Regions from separate parts of the Homo sapiens genome. Here regions 1 and 3 are each linked to region 2. Evidence: promoter capture Hi-C in 16 types of primary human blood cells and fetal thymus (Javierre and others, 2016). All regions are on one chromosome and are shown on one strand. The core of a region is centred on a gene start or on the middle of the fragment in contact, and the rest is flanking DNA. Distances in the headings are between cores, read along the strand shown. Region 1 overlaps PLCH1 (phospholipase C eta 1). Region 2 holds the start of DHX36 (DEAH-box helicase 36). Region 3 overlaps PLCH1 (phospholipase C eta 1).

Region 1 (3,079 bases), core at 92-2,591, 1.2 Mb after region 2:
GTTGTTCCAGGCAGAGAGAACAGCATACGTAAGAGTGGGGAGTTGAGAAAGAGCCAGGCTCAATAGGGAAGCTGAAAGACAGTCATTGAAGGCAGAATCCTAAATCTCTGTGGAATAATGGTGGAAGATGATAGTGGAAGACAAGGGAGATGCCAGACCTTAAGGGATATGAAGACATGCCTGTGTATTGAGAGAGCTTCTGACAGGCTTTAAGACAAGAATTGAATCACCATGCTCATATTTCAGAAAGAAAATTATAGCACCAGTGTTGAGGATGAACCAAAGGGGAAATAAAAATGAACAGGAGGCAATGGAGTCAAAAGATAACTTGGGAAGTAGAATTGCCAAGAATTGGTTGAGTCTAGAATGACTCCCAGTTTCTGGCTGAGGCCAGTGCTGCCCCTAACTATTAATAAGAGGAAATGGAGCGAGAATCAAGAGGAAGTTTGGCAGAATGAGATGCTGAGTTCCCCTTGGGGAGTAAGCTCCTTAATGGCAGGAGTCTTATCTTCTGCTCACTGTTGTGGCTCCCCACACCTATGGGATACTCAGATGAATATTCACTGAGGATTTTTATTTTTATTTTTATTTTTCTGAGATGGAGTCTCACTCTGTCACCCAGGCTGGAGTGCAGTGGTGCAATCTCAGCTCACTACAACCTCCACCTTCTGGGTTCAAGCAAATCTCATGCCTCAGCCTCCCAAGTAGCTGGGATTACAGATGTGTACCACTACATCCACCTAATACTTGTATTTTTTTAGTAGAGACAGGGCTTCGCCATGTTGACCAGGCTGGTCTCAAACTCCTGGCCTCACGTGATCCACCCTCCTCAGCCTCCCAAAGTGCTACAGGAGCCACCGTGCCCGGCCTCACTGAGTATGTTTCAACATGGGCCTAGAACTTGAGGGGAAAGTTCTGGACATAGAATTTGATAAATATCCAGAAAGTGATCTAGGGCAAAACCTTAGAAAACAGTTAACCATTAGAGGAATGAGGAAATAGATTAACAGAAGACTGCAGTACAAAAAAAAGAGATTGAGAAGCAACGAGAGCAATGGAGGGGAGAATGATATAATGGAAACCAAAAAAGGCAAGTAGTGGGGAGGAAATATTCAACACTGTCAAATGACAAGGAGAGGGTCAAGTAACATAAGGACTCCAGACACCTCAGTGTATAGATAAGACATCCATCATGATCAGAACCCACTAATTATGTACACAGTAACCTATGTTTCCAGATTTTATGGACACTCTACACCCTGGATTTAGAAATTTAGAGGTCACTATTTGCAAGAATGTCTTTAAGGAGGCATATTGAGAAAGAATGGGACAAGGAATAAATGCAGCATGAGAAAGTACAAACGGGAAGGCCACATTATTTGTTCACAATGTTTTGCTGAGAAGGAGGGAGAAAACTAGTCTAGCAAAGAGGGCAGTGTAGAGTCCAAGGAAGAGGATGTGGTTTTGTAGCTACGTTACATCAGGCAATGCTCCATGCGGGAGGCTACCGCTTAGCTCACAGGTGCTGCTTTACTTACTCATTCTTCACAAAGGCATGCTTGTTGATGGTCTCCACAACATCTCTGAAGAGAATTTTTGAAGTGAGAGTGTAACCATGATGTACTACTGGCTCTCCATCTGGGCCATCCCAACAGTCAACTGCCAAAAACAGAACTTTATATCAACAACCCAAAGTCTCTGGTGTTTATTAATATTTCTGGAAATACCAGACACATATTAAGTCCATTATCTGAAATTATACCCATTTCAATCCTGACAAAGACGTGACACAGACACAGAAATCGGTGTTCTGGCATATTTATCAGAACAAGGAATTAAAGAATTGCTTTTCCTCAAGACACAATGATTTGGTTTTGAGTGTGGTTAAAAAGATGTCATATTCTTAAACAGCTCAGAATTCACCAAAAACTCATTAGAACTTATCTAAATCCAGTCAAGTGTGCCCAAGGATAGGGAGATTTCTTGAAAGGTCATTTACCCAATTTCACTTCTTCTTCTTCTTCTTCTTCAGGTTATGAAGGTCTTTTAGAAAGTCACAGTGTCCTTCCCAAATCAATAATATAGTTTTCATTATTGTTCACTTAGGCTCACAATGTTTTCATTAGATTGATTTTCATTTCATTAATACTACAGTAGTTATAAAATAACATCAACTTCCTAAGTTCAAATCCTCGAGCGCTGCCAAGATTTATGTGAATTTGGGCAAATAACTTAATCATTTGAAGACTTGTTTTCCCCATCTAGAAAAGGAGAGTAATAGCACTTACATCATAAATTTGAGTGACAGTTAAATATATGTAAAGTAGCTTGTAACACTGCATGGCATATAGTAACTATGATTGTTATTGATACTATTAATATTGCTCTCTACCCACACAATCTCATTAGCTCTCAGCTGGAGAAAGACAGTAGGTTTTTCACCATGCCCCTCTGACTAAGAATTTGCTTTCTCTTGTTTTTATATTTTGCCCCCAGGCTAATTCCTCAAAACACTACTTTCACCTCATTGCTCCTTTGCTCAAAAGCCTACTTGGTGCATAGCACAGCATCCAACACAGAGAAGTAAGTAGTCTGTAAATATATGCTAAATGGATTAATAAATATCTTACCTCATACAATAGCTCTTGCGTGCTTACCTCCAACGCCCCTGTCTCTTGTGCTAGAGCCTGGCTAATCATTCACTAACCCTGTTTCTTCTTTTATCGAGGGAACACAGCTGGACTCTATTTCCTAGCCTTCCTTTGCAGGAGGATGTGGCCAGTGAAATGTGGGCAGAAAGTATGTGCACCACTTCCAGGTATGGTTGACAGAAACCTGCTGCCTTACATAATCATTCGTCTTCTTTCCTCTTCTGCTGTGACTTTAGAAGTGGTGAAGATGGCACAGCCACAAGATGGAAAAAGACAAAACTGCTTGAGAGATTCACCCACTAGGAACACCTATTTTGAACTTGACATAATCAAGAAATAAACTTCAGTTGTTTTAAGGCACAGGAAATTTGAAGTTTTATTGTTAAAAGGACAATGTTGCCTTAATTACCATGCTAGCTCCTGTCTGA
Region 2 (3,084 bases), core at 157-2,656:
TCCCAGCACTTTGGGAGGCCGAGTTGGGTGGATCACCTGAGGTCAGGAGTTCGAGACCAACCTGGCCAACATGGTGAAACCCCGTCTCTACTAAAAATACAAAAATTAGCCGGAGGTGGTGGCGGACGCCTGTAATCCCAGCTACTCGGGAGGCTGAAGCAGGAGAATCGCTTGAACTTGGGAGGCGGAGGTTGCAGTGAGCTAAGATCGTGCCACTGCACTCCAGCCTGGGCGACAGAGTGAGACCCTGTCTTAAAAAAAAAAAAAGTTGCCTAAATGATGATCTAATTACACTCTATAATACATTTTATAAGGTGCTTTTAAAAAGTCACCAAAGGCCTATACTAAGAAAGTTCCTGCTTAATGATAAAAATTATTTTTTATTAGAATTTTATTTACTAGTCACTCGGAGAACTTTGTTTCCCTTACTACAGATCTTTAAGACACAAATCAACCTGACAATCACCTGAAGAGAGGAGAGTAAGCCAAATCATCTCTGGAGATTCCTTTCATTTTCCTTTTCAAAGAGAATCTGCTCATCAATAGAAATTTCTCCACCCCAACATAAAAAACAAAAACCTAGGTTTGCAGATAATTTTAACACTAATAATAAAAGCTGGACTATTTTTCTGAATGATCCACATCCAAAACAGTGTCTGCCTGCTTTTGTTCCGCGCAAACCTATCTCAAATGTAGAAAGGTCGCTATGTGCTTCTTCACCAGGCAAAGACCTTAAAGTGACAATTATTATTCTAAGGGAAAGGACGGCCAGAGATACGACAACGACACTCCTAATAAAGTTAATTTCGGTTGGAACGTGAACTTAACATTTGCTTTGTCACAGTTCTCAAGTCCTTTAAGCAAAGTATATATTCAGCCTGCATAAATCCTGCCTGTTTTTGGTCAGATGAGCATGGCTAATGTTACGCAGTACACCCGCTACGGGGAGCGCCAGCATAATATATTTGCGCCTCATTTACATTTCACAAAACACGTGCATCACTTAAGAAACAAAACCAAGAAAAAGGGGGCAGCGGGAGAGAGAAGAAAACCTGTGCTGCCTCATCCTCTCCACTACTGAATCCGAGATTACCTCTTGCCTCTCCGCTTCCTTGTTCTTCTGCCCCTGTTTTTTCGCGTACCACATGCCGATTTCGCGGCCTTTCAGGTGCCCGGGATGCCGGCCCCTGCCGCCTCGACCACCCCCTCCGCCGCCGCCGCCTCCTCCGGAGCCTCGGTTACCTCCATGACCCCCTGCTGGCCCCCCTCCATAGCCCCCACCGGAGCTGCGGGGACCCCCATCACGGCCCCAGTTCTGATGGTAGTCATAACTCATTGTCCTGGCAGACTACAACCCGTCAGAACCAGCAACCGCTGGAAATGGCGTCCGGGCCCGGAAGCCACTGTGCGCCCACTTCCGTTTTGCTTCCGTAGCACCGCACAAGAGGGCGGGCCATTTAGCGTCACAAGCAGTGGTTTCTGGTGACGTCACGGGAGGACGACCCCGGTGGTCTGGAGGGTGGCAGGGATCAGGTTCTGTCTGAGCCCCCGAGTTGTTTATCTTTGTACCTCTGGAGCAACAGCCAGCCAAAGGCTCGTAGATTTTCTTTCCCTAGGCCCAGCAAGTGAGCCAATAGCTTTTGGTTTTTACTTTCTTATTCCTGGTAAATCCGCAGTTTTTTTGCACTTAGGTCCTAGGGTAGTAAACGTTGATTGAAACAAAAGAACCCTTGGATCAATTCGCCGTCTTCTAAAGAAAAGTCTCTAAAAAATGAGTTCTTCTAGTCTTGAAAACAGCCTGACAACTATTCAAATATGTAATTTAAAATCCCCTTACCTCCTTGAAAGTGTTGTCACTATTTAGTACGTTTATCCAATAGTGTTAAGATGAGCGTGTCTACCCAAATTCGGTGCAGAGCTCTTAGGCAATGTAAATAAACTACTTTGAAGATTCATGTGTTCATATGAAGCCACATACTGTTTATTAACCAGCACACTGAGTGTTTTGTACAAGCTGTTCTTGAATAATCAAGTAATTGGGCCACACAGGCTTGGATGTACACCAGGAGATATCCAGCTCATGTTACAGTTAACTGATGTAAAGGTGCTGGGAATACTCACTGAACAAAGCAAGTATGGCATGAGCTTTTATTTGCCTACAGTCTTAAGGGAAAGACAAAGGCTATCTTTGTGCAGTGAATTAAGAAAGGGAAATGCTGTATGCCAGGAAGGGGTCTACAATACACCATTGTGGCCTAAAAATTATTTTGAGCAAAGACATTTGAGTTTCTGAAATCTACCTGTCTAAATGCAGAACCACACGGAGGAATTCAAATCAAGCTCCTCCCTGGGAGGGAAACCCAGGAAGACTGACTCTTATCACTGGAGGTTAGAAGCTGGCAACACACTTGAATAGACATTGTCACAAAGCTATCATATCTGGCATCTGTTTTAAGGTGTCATTTATTTTTACTAAAAGTCATTTGTTTTTTCCATACGTGCTGTTTTCCCCTTTCCTTCCCTTTATAAGATGGTAGATAAGTCAGAACTCTACCTCCCTGAATCACCTTTTTCTGTGAACTCTATTATGTATGTGGTTAAGTCTGTCTTTTCTTTTGCTAATCTGTTTTGTCACTTTAAGTCTGGGGCCTGCAAACACTGAATCTAAGAAAGTAGACAAAAAGTATTTCCTCCCTAAGAGCCAAGAGATACTACAGCAAAAGAATTTAATTTTGGAGTTAGGTGAGTTATGCAACAACTTTTGAGATAAGTAGACTTTTGCCAGACTAATGGGCAGAAGAAAAGTATGGCAGGTGAAAGGAACAATGTGTAAAGACAGATAATGATGTGAGACATCGGAGAACTTAAAACAACTACCCTGAATCTTAAAGCCTGATGGGGAAGGCCAAAGAGGTAGATAGGGGTCTGATTATGGAAAACTTATGTGCCACTTAAAGAACAGTGATATGTTTATGCAGAGCAGTGGTTATTTTGACTGCTTCAATTGGAAATAAATAGCGGAGACAAGAGTGGATACAGGGAAACTAGTTAATGTGATGTAGGGGAGGCAAAATGGGATGACAG
Region 3 (2,830 bases), core at 109-2,608, 1.4 Mb after region 2:
AGTAGTAATTGTTTTATAAATTTGGGAGCTCCAGTGTCAGGTGCATATATATTTAGAATTGTGACATTTTCCTGTTGGACTAATTCTTTTATCATTGTATAATGTCCCTCTTTGTCTTTTTTAACTGCTGTTGCTTTAAAGTTTGTTTTATCTGATATAACAGTAGCTACTCTTGCTTGCTTTTGGTGTCCATTTGCATAGAATATCTTTTTTCACCCCTTTACCTTAAGTTTATGTGAGTCGTTCTGTGTTAGGTGAGTCTCTTGAAGGCAGGGGATAGTTAGTTTGTGAATTCTTATCATTCTGCCATTCTGTATATTTTAAGTGGAGCATTTAGGCCATTTACATTCAATGTTAGTATTGAGATGTGAGGTACTATTCTATTCATCATGGTATTTGTTGCCTGAATACCTTGGGGGGTTTTGTGTGTGTGTGTGTGTGTGTGTGTGTGTGTGTGTGTGTGTAATTGTTATATATGTCCTGTGAGATTTATGCTTTAAGAAGGTTCTGTTTTGCTGTATTTCAAGGATTTGTTTCAAAATTTAGAGCTCCTTTTAGCAGTTCTTACTGTGCAGGCTTAGTAGTTGTGAATTTTCTCAGCATTTGTTTGTCTGAAAAAGACTGTATCTTTCCTTCATTTATGAAGCTTAGTTTTGCTGGATACAAAATTCTTGCCTGATAATTGTTTTGTTTAAGGAGGCTAAAGATAGGACCCCAATCCCTTCTAGCTTATAGGGTTTCTGCTGACAAATCTGCTGTTAATCTGATAGGCTTTGACCCCAATCCCTTCTAGTTTATAGGGTTTCTGCTGAGAAATCTACTGTTAATCTGATAGGCTTTTCTTTATAGGCTACCTGAAGATGCATATGTAAGTATTTTATCTTTCTGATAAGTTGAGACTTTTTAACCAATTGACCCTCTTTATCTCTAAAAATGCTTTTTGCAATTTAAAGCCTATTTTGTCTTATGTCAAAATTGCCAGCTTCTTTTGGTTTTTAGTCACCTATTTCCCTTTCTATTATTTTACTTTTAAACATTCTGTATCCTTATATTTTAGACACTTTTTTTTTTTTTTGAGACAGAGTCTCACTCTGTCCCCCAGGCTGGAGTACGATAGTGCGATCTCAGCTCACTGCAACCTCCACCTCCCACGTTCAAGCAATTCTCCTACCTCATCCTCCAGAGTAGCTGGGATTACAGATGCATGCCCGGCTAATTTTTGTATTTTTAGTAGAGACGGGGTTTCACCACGTTGGCCGGGCTGGTCTTGAACTCCTGACCTCAGGTGATCTGCCCGCCTCAGCCTCCCAAAGTACAGGGATTACAGGCATGAGACATCACTCCCAGCCTGGACATTTCTGTTATAAGTAGCATATAGCTGAATTCTTCATCCACTCTAACAATCTTTGGTTCCTTTAGATTATGATTAGTGATACAATGGAATTTATTTCAACATCATATTTTGTGCTTGCTATTTGTCTTGCCTATTCTCTACTTTTTTCTCAGCTCCCTTGATTTCCTTGAGGTTATTTTTCTCATTTAATTTTTCTCCATTAGCTAGGAAGTTATCCATTATTTTCCTAATTTTTAGTAGTTGCCCTAGACATTTTAACATGCATACTTTGCTTATCGAAGTCTCAATAATCATTATCTCTAATCTCTTCCCAAACTATACAAGAATTTTAGAGCACATTAACTCCTTTTGCTTCTCCAACTTATGTTACTAGTTCCCACTGAATATATCATTATTACCTTATATAGTCAATACGTGTTTTAACTTAAACTTTCTTTGGTCTTCATTATTTCTTGTTTTTAAGATCCTTTATCTGGAAATAATTTTCTTCTACCTCAAGTGTTACTCTTTTAGTGAAGATCTGCTGGAACAAATTCTTTAGGTTTTTGTGCATCTGAAAGGCCTTTATTGTGTCCCTGTTTTTTAAAGATTGTTTTTTAATGAAAATAGAATCCTAGGGTGACAGTTAATTTCCCACAGTACATGAAAGATAATATTCTATTGTCTTCTGGCTTCTATTGTTACATTGTCAGGATAATTTGTCATGTCTTTGAAGCTAAGCTTAAGATCCTCTCTTTATCTTTTGTGTTCTGCAGTTTAATTATATTTTGTCTATGTGTGGATTTCTTTTTACTTACTCTGTCTGGAATTCATATGACTTCATCAATATGTCAAGTGATGCTTTTTATTGATCCTTGAAAATTCTCAGCCATTATCTCTTTAAATGTTGCCTTTTCCAATTTTCTTTCCTCTCTTCTTTTTCTGTAGCAATAATTAAAATTTTGTTCAGATTCTTTTTTTTTTTTTTTGAGACGGGGTCTTCACCCTGTTGCCCAGGCTGGAGTGCAGTGGTGTGATCTTGGCTCACTGCAACCTCTGCCTCCCAGGTTCAAGTGATTCTCCTGCCTCAGCCTCCTGAGTAGCTGGGATTACAGGCACGCGCCATCCCACCCGGCTAATTTTTTTTCTTTTTTCTTTTTTTTTTTTTTTGTATTTTTAGTAGAGACACGGTTTCACCACGTTGGCCAGGATGGTCTCGAACTCCTGACACTGTAAGCCACCTGCCTCAGCCTCTCAAAGTGCTGGGAATACAGGCGTGAGCCACTGCGCCCGGCTCAAATTCTTTTGATTAATTTTCTATGCAGCTTGGATTTACCTATTCATAAATTCATTCACTCTCTTATTTTTAATTATTACATTTTTATTTTTTCAAGTTGTATTTGGTTATTTTTTAAATGAGCTTGGAAAAATAAAAATAAAAAAATAAAATGAGCTTGGTTAGTCCTCATAGTTTCTTATCTTAAGCTCGTATCTTGT

The links. The method cuts DNA at HindIII sites, captures the fragments that hold promoters and counts their contacts. A CHiCAGO score of 5 or more calls a contact.
Region 1: a contact is called between a fragment that was not itself captured here and the fragment with the promoter of DHX36 in region 2, in 1 of 17 cell types (fetal thymus). The highest score is 5.1, in fetal thymus.
Region 3: a contact is called between a fragment that was not itself captured here and the fragment with the promoter of DHX36 in region 2, in 1 of 17 cell types (naive CD4 T cells). The highest score is 5.3, in naive CD4 T cells.

Annotation. Positions count from the first base shown.
Region 1 is chr3:155,552,538-155,555,616 of GRCh38, forward strand. PLCH1 (phospholipase C eta 1) reads right to left here. Exons shown (of 23, transcript NM_014996.4): 9 at 1,539-1,659. Among named protein-coding and RNA genes, the nearest start is that of PLCH1-AS2, 68 kb to the left of the region's middle. The HindIII fragment of the contact is 8,542 bases long and covers 1-3,079 here.
Region 2 is chr3:154,323,081-154,326,164 of GRCh38, forward strand. DHX36 (DEAH-box helicase 36) reads right to left here and starts at 1,407. Exons shown (of 25, transcript NM_020865.3): 1 at 1,094-1,407. The coding sequence starts at 1,336. RefSeq lists an enhancer at 1,300-1,594. The HindIII fragment of the contact is 15,842 bases long and covers 1-3,084 here.
Region 3 is chr3:155,724,391-155,727,220 of GRCh38, forward strand. The region is part of intron 1 of PLCH1 (phospholipase C eta 1); the gene reads right to left. Among named protein-coding and RNA genes, the nearest start is that of PLCH1, 19 kb to the right of the region's middle. The HindIII fragment of the contact is 1,428 bases long and covers 645-2,072 here.